Regions from separate parts of the Homo sapiens genome. Here region 2 is linked to region 1. Evidence: promoter capture Hi-C in human tissues and cell types (Jung and others, 2019). All regions are on one chromosome and are shown on one strand. Each heading gives the region's core, a stretch centred on a gene start or on the middle of the fragment in contact. The rest is flanking DNA. Distances are from core to core; before and after follow the strand shown. Region 1 holds the start of FAM217A (family with sequence similarity 217 member A). Region 2 overlaps ECI2 (enoyl-CoA delta isomerase 2).

The links. The method cuts DNA at HindIII sites, captures the fragments that hold promoters and counts their contacts. A contact is called where the count stands out against the background at its distance.
Region 2: a contact is called between a fragment that was not itself captured here and the fragment with the promoter of FAM217A in region 1, in 6 of the 25 tissues and cell types used here (H1 embryonic stem cells, IMR-90 fibroblasts, bladder and 3 more).

What each region holds. Positions count from the first base shown.
Region 1 is chr6:4,075,002-4,082,606 of GRCh38, forward strand. It overlaps FAM217A (family with sequence similarity 217 member A), which reads right to left and starts at 4,136. Exons shown (of 7, transcript NM_173563.3): 1 at 3,851-4,136; 2 at 2,354-2,447. The coding sequence starts at 2,413. It also overlaps the pseudogene LOC124901553 and the pseudogene TEX56P. The HindIII fragment of the contact is 11,916 bases long and covers 1,135-7,605 here.
Region 2 is chr6:4,110,797-4,118,401 of GRCh38, forward strand. It overlaps ECI2 (enoyl-CoA delta isomerase 2), which reads right to left. Exons shown (of 10, transcript NM_206836.3): 9 at 6,512-6,655; 10 at 4,910-5,233. The coding sequence ends at 5,078. It also overlaps the pseudogene TEX56P. Among named protein-coding and RNA genes, the nearest start is that of ECI2, 21 kb to the right of the region's middle. The HindIII fragment of the contact is 3,279 bases long and covers 3,027-6,305 here.

The DNA.
Region 1 (7,605 bases), core at 2,886-5,385:
TTCATCAAACTTTCTATATCTGAGTATCAGATCTAAAAGTCTATAAAAAGCCAGGTGTGGTGGCTCATGCCTGTACTCCCAGCACTTTGGGAGGCCGGGGCAGGTCAGGATCACCTGAGGTCTGGAGTTTGAGACCAGCCTGGCCAACATGGTGAAACCCTGTCTCCAATAAAAACACAAAAATCAGCCAGGTGTGGCGGCACGCACCTGTAATCCCAGCTGTTCGGGAGGCTGAGGCAGGAGAATCGCTTGAACCCAGGAGGTGGAGGTTGCAGTGAGCTGCAATCACACCACTGCACTCCAGCCTGGGCCACAGAGTGAGACTCTGTCTCAAAATACATACATAAATAAATAAAATTAAAAAAATAAAAGCCTGTAAAAATCTTTCCATCAACCACAGGAAGTCTCTAACCCTCATATTATATTCAACACTAACCAGCCCACTACTCATTCTGGCTTCCAGATGTGGAGGAACACTTAGGAAATATTCAAAAGAAAGCCAAAAATAAAACGGGAAAGGTGCTAATAACAACTGAGTATTTATGTTCCAGACATTGTGCAGAGTGCTATGGGGGAAAATGTGGGAGGTGTGTAGAAGATTATAACAATTTATTCTGGAAAACAGAAAGTGAAGAGGTGATTCGTTTATAAGAAAGTAACTTTTTAGGAATGAACCCAATTGTTTTCTGTCTCAAAAAAGCATTGTAAATTAAACTCTAAGCAAATGAAATGTGAGGTATTATTAGATACAATCTCTTCACTAAGGAGGAACAGAGAGAAATAAGCTTCAATACAGCATGAGGATTAATTTATCCACAAAGAGATATCTCCTGATAGGAAGGGTAGTTGAACATTGGAAGGGAGACTGCAGATTATCATTCTCTATAGATTTATGAAAAATATAATTAATAAAATTAATTCTCTGCTCTCTGGCATGATATGTACAAGGGCTAATCTCTACATGAGAATCACCTGGGGAGCTTTTTAAAAATAATAGTTGCAAAAAAATGCTGCAAATCCTGATTTTAAAGAATGAGGGTGAGGGCCGGGCGCAGTGGCTCAAGTGGCAGTAATCCCAGCATTTTGGGAGGCCGAGGCGGGCAGATCACCTCAAGTCAGGAGCTCTAGACCAGCCTGGCCAACATGTCGAAACCCCATTTCTACTAAAAATACAAAAATTAGCTGGGCGTGGTGGTGGGTGCCTGTAATCCCAGCTACTTGGGAGGCTGAGGCAGGAGAATCACTTGAATCCGAGACGCAGAAGTTGCAGTGAGCCACGATAGCACCACTGCACTCCACCCTGGGTGACAGAGTGAGACTCCGTCTCAAAAAAAAAGAAAAAAAAAAAAAAGAATGAGGGTGAGGCCCAGTTATTTGTATTTTAAAGATCCTTTTGTAGTTCACAGCACGATGACTGGGTTTTTATGTTCATGTGTGAGATGCACCCCTTCAGACTTTTTTACGATGTCTGGTGGATTTTTAAGCTTTTTTCAGCTATATAATCCTGATACTTTTGTATGAAATGCACGTGAGAGAAATATCCTCAGCTGATGAAACTGTGTTGTTGCAATTCTAAAATAAAATTAATGAAACCAGGCCAGGCATGGTAGCTCACACCTGTAATCCCAGCACTTTGGAAAGCCAAGGCGGGTGGATCACTTGAGGTCAGGAGTTCAAGACCAGCCTGGCCAACATGTCGCTACTAAAAATACAAAAATTAGCCGGGCGTGGTGGCACATGCCTGTAGTCCCAGCTACTCGGGAGGCTGAGGCAGGAGAATCGCTTGAACCCGGGAGGTGGGGGTTATAGTGAGTTGAGATCGTGCCACAGCACTCCAGCCTGGGAGACAGAGGAAGACTAAGTCTCGTCTCCAAAACAAACAAACAAAAAACACCAAAACAACAAAAAATTAACATAACCAAATTGATCAACTGGTAAAGAATGCTCATTAACTAAACATGAAGTCTGACAGTTTGCAAATTTCTTAAGAGTTGGGACTTGATTATGCTTTGTGATATCCCACCTGCCTTACCAATATTTTTCACAAAGGGTGTGTGTGTGAAAACAAAAGAAGTGAGCACTGCCTGGTTGATAACAAGGCAGCACCTTTAACAAAGCCAAATTGCAATTAGAAATGTTTGACATTTGGAGAAGAGCTGGCTAATTTTCCCTTTGTTAAAAGAAATAGAAAATTTCCATTTGCTGTTCCAAATGTGCCAAAAGGAAAACACAGGATAAACTGCCCACGATGCAAACGCAGCAAGGGCATCACTACAAGAAAACTCCATGGGAGTTACGTGTTAGCAACAGGAGCCGCTGCCCAAACACTCAAGTTCAACAGCGCCTGCCATACCTCCTGAGAGATGTTTGACACACGTAGGCTGTTAGCACAGTTCTCATTTCTTCTCCCCATTTTGTTGTAGCTGTTGCTCTGTTTCCTTAAAATCCTACACAGATTGCGGGATAGGCACATTTATGGGTAAGGGTCAACATTTATAAAAAAGAAAGTGTGAGTTTTGATTTCCCATCTAAAGGAGGTAAGAGAATGCTTAGAAAGCAGAAGAGAGGGGCTAGGAGAGCAGGGTGGGGGTGACAGTACGAAACCAACCAGAAGCAAGGGGCAAGCCTGACTCAAAAGGAGCACAGACAACAGCAAACTGGCAGATCTCAGAACAGAAGATTAGGAAATTGAGATCAGAGGTGAGAAAGCAAATATCAGCTAAGAAGATGAAATACACATTGGAACAAACTATGGTGAATTATCTGGAACTTAGAAAACAGGGGCACAAAGTCTCCTTTTATTCATTCAAAACAATTGCTCCATTTGAAAGCAGGGTTGAACCCTTACAACTAGGCCAGGCAAGCACCCCGTGCATATTTCGGAGACAACAAAATGCCCCCAGGACCAAACAATATTTTCCGCACCAATCAATCAAGGTACCTAAAGGGTTTTAACCCACTGCCGTTTAAGGTAAAAGAATTAGAGAACTCTAAGGTAACAAGCAAAACAGTCACTGGATTAAGGTATGGCTATCTGGAAAGAATCACTTTTTTTTTTTTTTTTTTTTTTGAGACAGAGTCTCGCTCTGTTGCCCAGACTGGAGTGCAGTGGCGCGATCTCGGTTCACTGCAACCTCCGCCTCCCGGGTTCAAGCGATTCTCCTGCCTCAGCCTCCCGAGCAGCTGGGATTACAGGCGAGCACCACTACGCCCAGCTAATTTTTATATTTTTAGTAGAGATGGGGTTTCACCATGTTGGCCAGGCTGGTCTTGAACTCCTGACCTCGTGATCCACCTGCCTCAGTCTCCCAAAGTGCTGGGATTACAGGCGTGATCCACTGCACCCGGCCAAGAATCACAAATTAAAGCCACCGCAGTAATCGGTCTATCTGCTAATCGTTTACAATTGATTGTCTCCTACAGAAAAGTGTATGAAGAAATAGGAGATTTAGTTTAGGTAGGTTTTCAGCCAACACCGGTTATTGGTCCACGAGTGTGTGCATGCCAGACACTAGGTCTGAATGCAGGAGGAAGGCGGTTGCTGAGCAGGTGGCGCTGCCTGGGGCCACCGGGTGTGTGTCAAGAAGGAGGGCATCCAGCTCCTGGAAAAGGCCACCGCACCTGAAGGACGGCCCTGGGGACAAAGGACGCCTTGGGGACTGCGAGTTGGGGGACAGGAGCTTTAGGGGCCAGAGTGCTTGAAGGCGCGTGTCTCAAGGGAGCCGCAAGGCCCCCGTGAAGAGGAATCCCCTTTTCCTCCTGAGCTGTGGCCGGACTGGGTGGGGAGCCCAGTTCCAGGGGTAGCAGGAGGGGGCTGCGGGATTCCCCGGGGCCGGGGCTCTCAACCCACCGCGCGAAGGCCCACGTGTCCTCCCCGGCGTGCTCTCCCGGTGCGCCGCCCCGAGGCCCGAGCGCCTCCGCGTGCGTGGCTGACGGCTTGGAGGGCGCCCCCTCTGCCGCGGCCTTCCTGCAGCGGGGGGACAAAGAGGGCGGCGGGCGGCTGGCGGCCTTGAGCGCAGCCCGGTCGGCAGTGCAGGGCCTGCGAAGCCCGCGGGCCGGCGCAGGGGTGGGAGTCGGGCCCGGGGCCCAGAGAGACCTTCCGGGGCCGGGGCTGCGGCTCCGCGGGCTTCCCCACCGGCCGGGTCTCCCGGCAACTACCAGAGAGCGGGGGCGCCCGGGGAGGCCCGGCGTTCCACAAGGTCCACGCGTATTCGCGGGCCGCGGGGTCGCCGCCGGCCGCCCAGGCGCGGAGCCTCTCGGGGGTCACCCGGCCGCCGGGCCCGCGGGACGCACGGGGCCGCCAGGGGAGGACAACAAGCCTCAGGCCCTGTCCCTGCGCCCCGCCCGGCCTCCCCCGCGGGGCTGCGCAGCCCACTCGGCCATCCTGGCCTGAAGGGGCCGCCCCCGGCCTCGCGGGAAAGCCTGAGCCTCCCGGGCCTTCTCGGGCCTTCTCGGACTTTCCCCCAGGCGTCCTGGACCTTCTTCGGCCTTCCTGGGCCTCCTCGGGCTTCCTTGACCCTCCCCAGGCCTTCCCCGAGGCCTCCAGGCCCTTCCCTGGGCCTCTCCAGGCTGAGCTCTCCGCGACATGGCCAGTGGGCCTCTGGGACCCGGGGCCCGGCCCACCCGCCTCCACCCTCCATTCCCACCGCCTGCTCACATCAAGCCAGGAGCACCGCCCGGTACGTAGTCCTCCAGACTAAGCTACAATATATACGCATTGATACATGTGAAGTTATATCTATGCTTGTACAATATATTAACATAGAAGAAGAGGCATCCTTGTTGACACCAAGCTCATCCGGTCAGTTTCAGGTCCGTCGTCGGCCTTTCAATAGGAAAAACAAAAGATGATTTTTTTTCTTTTTTCATGTAGAGGATACATGTAAATCACACAGCCCAATTTTGTACCCCGAAATGCATATCTCCTATTACAGCTTCATGAAATAAGTGGAGGGGTGGGGGAAGAATCTCTCTCTATCTAGTTAGATATATCTGCATAGCTATCATCACCCCCACCTTTTGATATAGAGAAAAATTTAAAACAAAATTAATTATATATTTAGGTACAGCAAATGAATACTAAACATTTGGGGGGATGAGATCACGGCCATGTCCCTCTGAGAATCTCCCCATAAAAATGCACTTATATACCACATGTTGAAAACAATGTCAGGGGTTTCTCAGGTTCTTTGATCCCTGACTCCTGACTCTTTCCTCTGCATTTCCATTTTCTCCTCAGAAAGACCTTCCCTTTAAAGAAGCTCTTCCCACCTTCCACCTACCTTACTCTATTTCATGACACCCCGTTGTTATTTACTTCTTTGTACTCCTCATAATCTTGCTGTTTACTTGTTTGTTTTTGTATTGTCTGTCTCTCCCCAGTAGAATATCAAACTCCATGTGGGCCGGGGCCTTGTCTGTCTAGTTCATTTCTGTATCCCCAACCCTTTAAAACTGTGCTGGGCACATAGTAGAAGCACAGTGGTAGAAGCACAATCGATGTAAGTGAACGAACAAGATTTGTGCAGGCCTCATTCCTTGCAGCCTCCTTGGAGGTTTCCCTTCTAGGGCCCTCTCTTCCTTCGGCTGTTTTCCATACTGCTGCTCTAAAATACAGACCTGCTCAACTGCCTCCTAATGCCGGAAGGAGGAAACCCTAATTCTGCAGCCATCCCTTAGGTATCTGCTCATCACCTTCCCAGCGCCCACTACATGTCAAGCACATCGGACATTTTACAATTTTCCTAAACACTCTCCTCCAGGGCATACATCATTGTTACTCTTCCTGTAATAGTACCTCCTTTTTATCTCCTTTTCTTTTTTAACCTGCCTAAATTCTAGTCATTACACTTCTAACTCACAAGTCATTTTTCCTGATTGTTCAGGAAGTGTAATTACTAGAAAAAATACAAAAAAAAAAAAAGGAGAGAAAACAAAAGTTGCTGTCTCCTCCAAGATCCTTGCTTCGTTATAATGATTTAATTACAGCCCCTTACTCAGTTACATTGTAATTATTCATTTACAACGTCTCAATCACTTTCTTTTCAACACCTTGAAGGTGATATCTGCCCATATTCTATCTAACAGAGTGCCTGGCATGTACTGTAGTAGGTAAGGCACTCAATAAATGTTTCAATTGATTTAATTATTGCAAAAATAGTATTTTCTGAAATGTATGGTGTGGTGACTATATGCCAGGCATAGTGCTGAACATTTTATATGGATTAACCAATGTATATGCCTGATAATCCAATGAAGCAGGTACCACCAGTTATTCCTATTTTATTTCTTATTTTTAATTTTTATTTATTTATTTTTTTGAGACAGAGTCTTGCTCTGTCACCCAGGCTAGAGTGCAATCGTGTGATCTCGGCTCACTGCAACCTCTGCCTCCCAGGTTCAAGCAATTCTCCTGCCTCAGCCTCCCTAGTTCCCTAGTAGCTGGGATTACAGGCACCAGCCACCACGCCCGGCTAATTTTTTGTATTTTTAGTAGAGACGGGTTTTGCCATGTTGGCCAGGCTGGTCTCGAACTCCTGACTTCAGGTGATCTGCTGGCCTCAGCCTCCCAAAGTGCTGGAATTACAGGCATGAGTCTCTGAGCTCAGCCTAGTTATTCCTATTTTATAATTGAGTAACCTGAGCCTTAGATGTATTATATAACCTTTTCCACCTTACAATTACGAGAAAAATTGCGAATGGGAGTAAATATTGGGGTACATGTATTTCCAGCTAATGCTTTCTACAAATGTATATCTAGCTGGGAAATGTTCCCCGCTCTTGAGACAAATTATGTGTGCTTGTGTGTGCACATGCACACGTGTGTGTAAATTCCAAATATCTGGCTTACACATTTCCCCTCTTCCTTGCTTTGTGTTTCTGTTCATGCCTTTTTCTGTTATTTCAGAACTCAAACTGATTCCTGATCCCTTAGAGTCCTTGTGAGATTTGTCATCCATAAATACATCCTCTAAGATTCTTTTTTTTTCTTAACAGAACTTATTCTTAAAAATGTTCCTTTCATATTATCACCCCCACTCAACTGGTCTTCCTTTCTCTGGAGACTTTTGAATGCTTTGACATCAGCATCAAAATCATGGCTGGCCATTCCCTCATTGCTAAATGTGCACGGCTGTGGAGATGTGAAATATGAAAGCGACAACTTGGAAATTGTGCCCTCTCCAAACCCTTGGGTCTGGTCTGGCTCTGGCCCAGCGTAGGAGGTTGGACAGTGGGTCATTTTCTACAGCAGCTCAGACCCAGCTCAACATCAATCCCAAGGCCAAAGAAAATGCACCTTCCTTCTGTTGGGGCTCGGAAAACAGTACCCCAAAATGAAGGCTTCGGAAATAGCCTCAGAAACACGTTTTTCTCTGACCTTCTTCTGCCCTCCTGTCTCTCAGTCCCAGTCTCCCTCCGAGGCTAGCCTGAGAAACTAGAATCCCTCTTCTCCAATGCAGGTTACAGAAATCAGAATGCTTTTTTCCCAAAGCCAGCCATAAAACCTAAAAATATTACTCCAATTTTCCCTTTGCCTTTCTGTGTAAAAACTGGCCATAAAGAAATTATCTGACCCCCATTCCAGAGAGTGGCCCATACCCAGAA
Region 2 (7,605 bases), core at 3,416-5,915, 36 kb after region 1:
TAGTTTCTTATGGTGTAAATCTAGGCTGTTTATTCAAAATCTTTCTTTTTTCTTAATGTGTTTGCAGCTGCAAATTTCCATCTTAGCACTGCTTTCAGATCCTCCCATAAGTTTTGGTTTGTCGTGTTTTCATTTGTGTCAAGATATTTTAAATTTTTTGTGATTTTTCTTGACCCATTGGTTATTTAAAAGTGTGTTAATTTCTACATACTTGTGAATTGTCCAGGTTTTTGCTGTTAACTTCTAGTTTCATTTCATTGTGATGAGAAATGATATTTTGTATTTCAATTTTTAAATCTATTAAGATGTCCTATGGCTTAACATATGGAAAATGCTCCATGTGCACTTAAAAAATACATATTCTGTTGTTGTTAAGTGCAGTGTACTGTATGTGTCTGCTGGGTCCAGTGGGTCTATAGTGTTTTTTAAGTCCTATATTCCCCTATGATCTTCTACCTGGTTCTCTATCCACTGAAGAAAGTGGAGGTATTGAAGTTTTCTACTATTATTGTAGGGCCATTTATTCTTCAATTCTGTCAATGTTTGCTTCATATATTTTGGAGCTCTAATATTTAGTGCATATGTTTATAATTGTCATATCTTCTTGGTAAATTGAGACTTTTAGCATTATATTATGTCTGTCTTTGTCTCTTTTAACAGTTTTTGACTTAAAGTCTATTTTGTCAATTAGTATAGCCATTTCTGCTCTCTTTTTATTACTATTGGCATGGAATATCTTTTTAATCCTTCCACTTTCACCCTACTCATATCCTTAGATCTAAAGTGAGACTCTTTTAAACAGTATATAGTTGATCCTGGTTTTATACCCACTCTGCCAACTTATGATTTTTGATATGTTTTCAATCCAATTACATATAAATTGCTGAAAAGAAAGCAATTAGTTTTGCCATTTTGTTGTTTTCTCTGTCCCTTACAGGTTTTTTTCTCCCTCATTTCCTTGATTACTGCCTTCCTTCATGTTTAAAGTTGTTGTAATGGCATATTTTGATTCTCACTTCTGCTTGCGTATATTTTCTTGGTGTTTACTATGTGCACTACATATAACATCCTAGAGTTATGATGATCTATCTTAATTGATACCAACTTAACTTCAATTGCATATAAAAACTCTACTTCCTTAAAGCTTTTCTCCCCTTATGTTATTGATGTCACAAATTATACGGTTTAATATTATATATTCATTAACATATATTCATAATTATTTTATGCAATTGTCTCTTAAATCCTGTAGAAAATCAAAAGTGGAGTTATAAACCAAAATTACATTAATACTGTTTTTATATTTGTTCATATATTTACCTTTACTGGAGAACTTTATATTTTCATCTGTCTTCCAGTTACTATCTAGCATTATTTCATTTCAAACTGGAGGACTTCCTTTAACATTTCTTGTAGGGCAAGTGTAGTAATAATAAATTCCCTCAGCTTTTGTTTTTATGGGAATGTCTTAATTTCTCCCTCATTTTTGAAGAAACATTTTACCAGGTATAGAACTCTCAGTTGACAGTTTTTTTTAAAATTTTCAGCACTTTAAATATATCACCCCACTGCCTCTAGTCTCCAAGGTTCTTGCTGAAATAATACTCGGATAGTCTTATCGCAGATCTCTTGTATATAGTCACTTTTCTCTTGATGCCTTCCAAGATTCTCTTTATCTTGCACTTTTGTCAGCTTTGATTATGTGTCTTCGTATGGGTCTCTTCAGGTTTGTCCTACTTGGAGACCATTGAGCTTGGATTTGTATATCCATGTCTTTCCTCATATTTGGCAGGTTTTCAGCTATTATTTATTCAAATAGTCTCTCTCCTCATTTTTCTCACCTCCTTCTGGGACTCCCATTATGCATATATTGGTCAGTGTGATGGCATCTCATAAGTCCCTAAGCCTCTGTTCACTTTATTTTTTCTTCTGTATGCTTCTCAAATTCAATAATTTCAAATGAGCTGTTTTCAAATTTGCTTATTCTTTCTTCTACTTATTTGAGTTTGCTGTTGAACTCCTCTAATAAAATTTTCAAATTAGTTATTGTACTTTTCAGCTCAATATTTTTTTTTATAATTTCTTTGTTGATGTTCTCATTTTGTTCATATGTTTTCTTGACTTTCCTTTGTTCTTTGTTCATGTTTTTCTACAGTTCTGCGAGTATATTTGACATTTGTGGTTTTTTTTTGTTGTTGTTTTGAGACAGACTCTCACTCTGTTGCCCAGGCTGAAGCGCAGTCATGTGATCTTGGCTCACTGCAACCTCTGCCTCCTGGGTTCCAGTGATTCTCATGCCTCAGCCTTCTGAGTAGCTGGGATTACAGGTGTGCAGCACCATGCTCTGCTAATTTTTTTGTATTTTTAGTAGAGATGGGGTTTCACTATGTTGGCCAGGCTAGTGTCAACTCCTGGCCTCAAGTGATCTGACTGCCTTGGCCTCCCAAAGTGCTGGGATTATAGGCATGAGCCATCGCACCTGGCTGACAGTTGTTTTAAAGTCTAGTAAGCCTGATGCCTGTGTTTCTTCCAGAACTGTTTCTGGAGATGTGTTTTGTTCATTTCAGTGGGCCATCTTTCCCTGGTTCTTTGCATGCCTTATGATCTTTTTTTGAAAATTGGGTATTTAAAAAAAATATGGCCACTCTCCCAGTCTTTGCAGACTGGCATGTAAGACCTCACTAATTTGTAAGTCCATGAGGTCTTCACTAATCTGAGATTAGTCCAGGTCTTCTCAGGTCTTTTCTAGGCATGCTTCCTTCCTGTGAATGTGTGTGTGCTCCCTGTCCCCATCAAAGGTGATTTTAAAGGTCTTCATTTCCTAAACAGTCTCACTGCAGCTTTTTCTTAGGGCCTTAGATATTCTATTGTATTCCTCTGTAATCTCCTGCCCTCAGAGGTCCACAGGGCAGCAATCCCTGTGTAGTTTTCATGTGCTGCATTGCTCACCACTGCCTTCTGTGGCTTCCAGCCTGAAATCAAAACTATTTGCTGTCTCCAGTCTGATACCTGAGTTGGACATTACAGACACCATTTCTGTAGGCAGCCCACAGACAGGCCAGGATGTTGCAACAAGTTTCACTCTGCTCCTTCTGTCCAAGTGTTCACATTTCCATGTTTCTTTTTATGTCACATCATTTTGTAAATATTATGTCATATGGATCCTGGATCCATATGACAGCTTCTTCTCAGGGCCTTAGATATTCTATTGTATGGTTGGATCCAATATTATGTCATATGGATCCTGGATATTTACTGTATTTACTATATTGTGGCATTGGATGGAAGTTATGTTTTTGTGGATCATGTTACAATCATCTGGAAAATGCCATTTTTGTTTTAGCAAGAAATCAATCTGGTTAGGTTCAGACTACAAGCTGTCTTGATCTTCTGTGGGTGGTGGTTAAAATCCCAGTACACTTCGCAAAGCCTTTGCTATGCTGGTTTGAGTCTGTCTCACTTATGAATCAGACTTATCTAGGTTCATACACAGAATTAGAGCTTCTTTCTCTTGGCTCTGGGAGTCTCTTCTTGCTTTCACTCTTTAGCCCCCAGAGGGCCCTTTTCCTTTTCAAAGTGTTTTTGTTTTCCTCAACTTCTATTTGGCTGGCCACTCCATGGTCACCGCAGCACCACCCCACAATAGGGGTGTGCCTCTGAGGCAGAAGTATTAGGTTGGTGCAAAAGTAACTGCAGTTTTGCCTTACTTCTAATACCATGCTCCGGAGTTAGATTCCAGCAATTGTGTTTATTTCTCATAATCTGGGAAACTTATCCTTGTGCAGTTGCTTCTCTGTATTTTGACACCCTTTAACAATCCACCTGCTTTTGATTAATTTCAGCATGCTCAAGTAGTTCTTTTTCGTATTTCTTCTAGAGATTTTAGTTGTAATTTGTGGAGGAATGGGCAGTAGTTGGCTTGTGCTGCCATTGTGGGATGAGAACTCTGCCTAGATTTTTATCTTCATTTTGACATTTACTGGGAGTTTGACTCTGGAGAAGCTAGTTTAATCTCCATGCCTCGGGATGCCTACTTGAAAATGGGTAGTAGCAACAGACCTACCTCATTTTTAATTTTTGGCATTGTTTTTGGTGGATAAAATATGATAATGGGCATTAAGCACTAGTAACTGCTCAATTGAAACGAATGCTTATTTCTATTCTTATATTTTCTATAAAACTGAACATCTTGGATTACAATTACTGGAATAAAAAATTTAGAACTAAAAAGTTAAGAGATTTGGTGAGTTAGCTAACTTTGACCTTAAAGGAAAGGTCAAAAGGAAGACTAAGAAAAGCAAAATATCCCATCCTTTTCTGTAGCCCTTGGAATTACACCCTCAGTCCTTGTCAAGTGATAGCTATGAAATCAAAACAGGGTGTTACAAGGACAATCAAGGCAGCTTGCAGGGATGCCTTTCATAAAGTACCACATTAAACAAGAATGGGACTCTAACAAATAAGAAAACAATTACTCATACAGAGCATTGCTTTCCAATGAAATGACCCAGTTTTCCCTTCATGCCTCTTTATTAAATTGTGCAAAAAAACCCAACTAAGATTCTTATTTGGGTTCTTATTCTTATTCTTGATTCTTATTTGTTTTCTAGTAATACTATTCCTTCCATTTTGCTCCCTTGCTACATGGCTGAAAAAGAACATGCAACCCACTGAAGACCTCAAGTCAGTGATCTGTAGGCTGTCAGCATTTGGCCCAATTCAGTCAGCCACTGTTTGTGGACGTCAAAGTGCTATAGTGGCATTCAAAGACATGACTTCAGCCTGTAATGCTGTGAGTGCTTTTCAAAGTAGGACCCCAGGCACCATGTTCCAGTGTTCCTGGCAACAACGATTCATGTCAAAAGACGTAAGACTCTCTACTACCAAACACCTGTGTGAATTCTTAAGCTTGTTTTACAAAACTTTTTATTCATCAGAGCTGTAGTGAAATATCATCATTGTAATTGATATTCTAGCACTACAAAAGGCACAATGAAGCTTATTTAGTTCCAGTACTGGAAATCAGAGGTAACAGCACATCCTTCCTTGGACATGCTTTACTCTGCTGTAGTGGTCATCACAGTTTTGATTTTCTGGATAAGAAGTTCACCACAGCATTTGTGCATTCATCTGATAGCCATCTTCCCTGAAGGACATTGCATTCTTCAGCATTAACAGCGTGTAGTTTTTCTCTCTCTCTTTTCCTGATTACCTCTTTTGAAATTCTCAAGGCCTGGAAAAACAAAACCAACAATAAGGTTAAGAGTTGACCTAGGCTGGACGTGGACTCATGCCTGTAATCCCAGCACTTGGGGAGGCCGAGGCGGGCAGATCAGTTGAGGTCAGGAGTTCAAGACCAGCCTGGCCAACATGGTGAAACCCCATCTCTACTAAAAATACAAAAATTAGCTGGTTGTGGTGGTACATGCCTGTGATCCCAGCTACTCAGGAGGCTGAGTCAAGAGAATTGCTTGAACCCGGGAGGCGGAGGTTGCAGTGAGCTGAGATCGCACCATTGCACTCCAGCCTGGGTGACAAGTGAGACTCTGTCTCAAAAAGAAAAAAAGAGTTAATCTAATAGGAGTGAGATTATTCTATGATTCTGGTTCTTGTTTCTCCCATGTTCATTTAATAAATCCTGTTAAATCTTTTTTTTTTTTCTGAGACATAGTCTCACTCTGTCGCCCAGGCTGGAGTGCAGTGGTGCAATCTTGGCTCATTGCAACCTCTGCCTCCCGGGTTCAAGCAATTCTCCCTGCCTCAGCATCCAGAGTAGCTGGGATTACAGGCGCCCACCACCACGCCTGGCTAATTTTTGTATTTTTTAAATAGAGATGTGGTTTTGCCATGTTGGCCAGGCTGTTCTTGAACTCCTGACCTCAGGTGATCTGCCCTTCTTGGCCTCCCAAAGTACTGAGACTACAGGTGTGAGCCACTGTTCTCGGCCCTAATGCTGTTAAATCTTAAGCTGCATGTGTAATATAAGACAGTGCTTCTCAAAATTCAGTGTGCATATAAATCGCTTCAGTAGGTGTGGGGCAGGCCTGTGATAATACATTTCCAAAAAGCCTCAGGTAGCTGCTCAAGCTTCTGGCTCCAGGACTACATTTTGAATAGCAAGAATATAAAAGCAATCAGTCACTCACTACCACATACAAAAACAAAAGTGCTATACAATAAGACTCTCAAAGTAGCTAATCCATGCTTCTCACCTGGATTCCAAAGTAAAAGTGCTCAGCAAATACTGCCTAGCATCCTGCTCAAGTAATCCCCATACAGAATTGCCCTCTGTCCCCACACAGAAATGGAAGGTCTATTTGATAAGTTTTGTAAAAATCAGTACTGCATTTCCAACATTACTACAGTTATTTTTTAATTCCAAATTTAGATGTGCTTAGAGGTAACTAAAGATGTGTCTTGTGCTTTTTATGACTTATTCTCTGAAGGCAAATAAATTTTTCCCTTAGGAAATCATTTTCAAGGTTCTTAGAAGTAAAAGATGAATACTAACATTTGGGGGAAGCTTTGCAAATGCCTTCAGCCTGGTCCAGACTTCTTTCTGAAAAGTGCTATCAGGGAAAACTTCAGTAACAAGTCCTTGAGCACATGCCTCTCCCGCTGTTAACTTCTTTCCAAAAATAAGCATCTCTGTTGCCTGAAATGAAAAGCAAGAAGCAAGGTTAAGATACTAACTTAATAAAACAAGGCTTCAGTTAACTGCTTTCAGGAGGCTTAGAGAGATGTACTCATGGTCTTTTGAGGTTGCTGGTATTTCTCAGTAAGGGAGAAGCTGATGACCTCAATAGGCAACGGTTTGCAAACTGTGTGCTGAGACAGGCTCCTGGGAAGGTCTATAAGGGCTGCTGCTTCTGTGTATCGTTGTTGGAGGGGCAAGATCAGGGGGTCCAGGGCAGAAATGATCTGAAGCAGATGCTTGATTCTATAACCCACAGCAGCTATGATTTTCCATTTGATACACTATAAACTATTATTTTACAGAGGAAAAAAGGAGAGAAAAATTACGGTCATTGGGTCAACCTTTAGAAACTTTCAAAATTCCATTCTCTGGAAACTACCCAGTGATCTGGCTCTGAGAGTTTTCTTTACCTGCATTGGTACTCAAATTAGTTCTATTTGACTAAAGGAAAGCAAAGACTTATAGTTAGCTTCCGAAAAAACTGAGGACATTAAGTGGATATCCTCTCTCCATTTGCAATTTCTTTTCCAGAAAAGGAATGCTCTTCTTTTTTTTGAGACAGAGTCTCACTGTGCTGCCCAGGCTGGAGTGCAGAGGCACGATCTTGGCTCACTGTAACCTCCACCTCCTGGGTTCAAATGATTCTCCTGCCTCAGCCTCTTGAGTAGCTGGGATTACAGGTGCCCGCCACCATGCCCCGGCTAATTTTTGTATTTTTAGTAGAGACAGCATTTCACTATGTTGGCCCGGCTGGTCTTGAACTCCTGATCTCAAGTGATCCACCAGCCTTGGCCTCCCAAAGTGCTGGGATTACAGGTGTGAGCCACTGCACCCAGCCAAGGAATGCTCTAATAGCCAAATGCTCTAAGACTTGTAGAGTCAGTTCTGCCCCCTTCCCAAGTTCAATT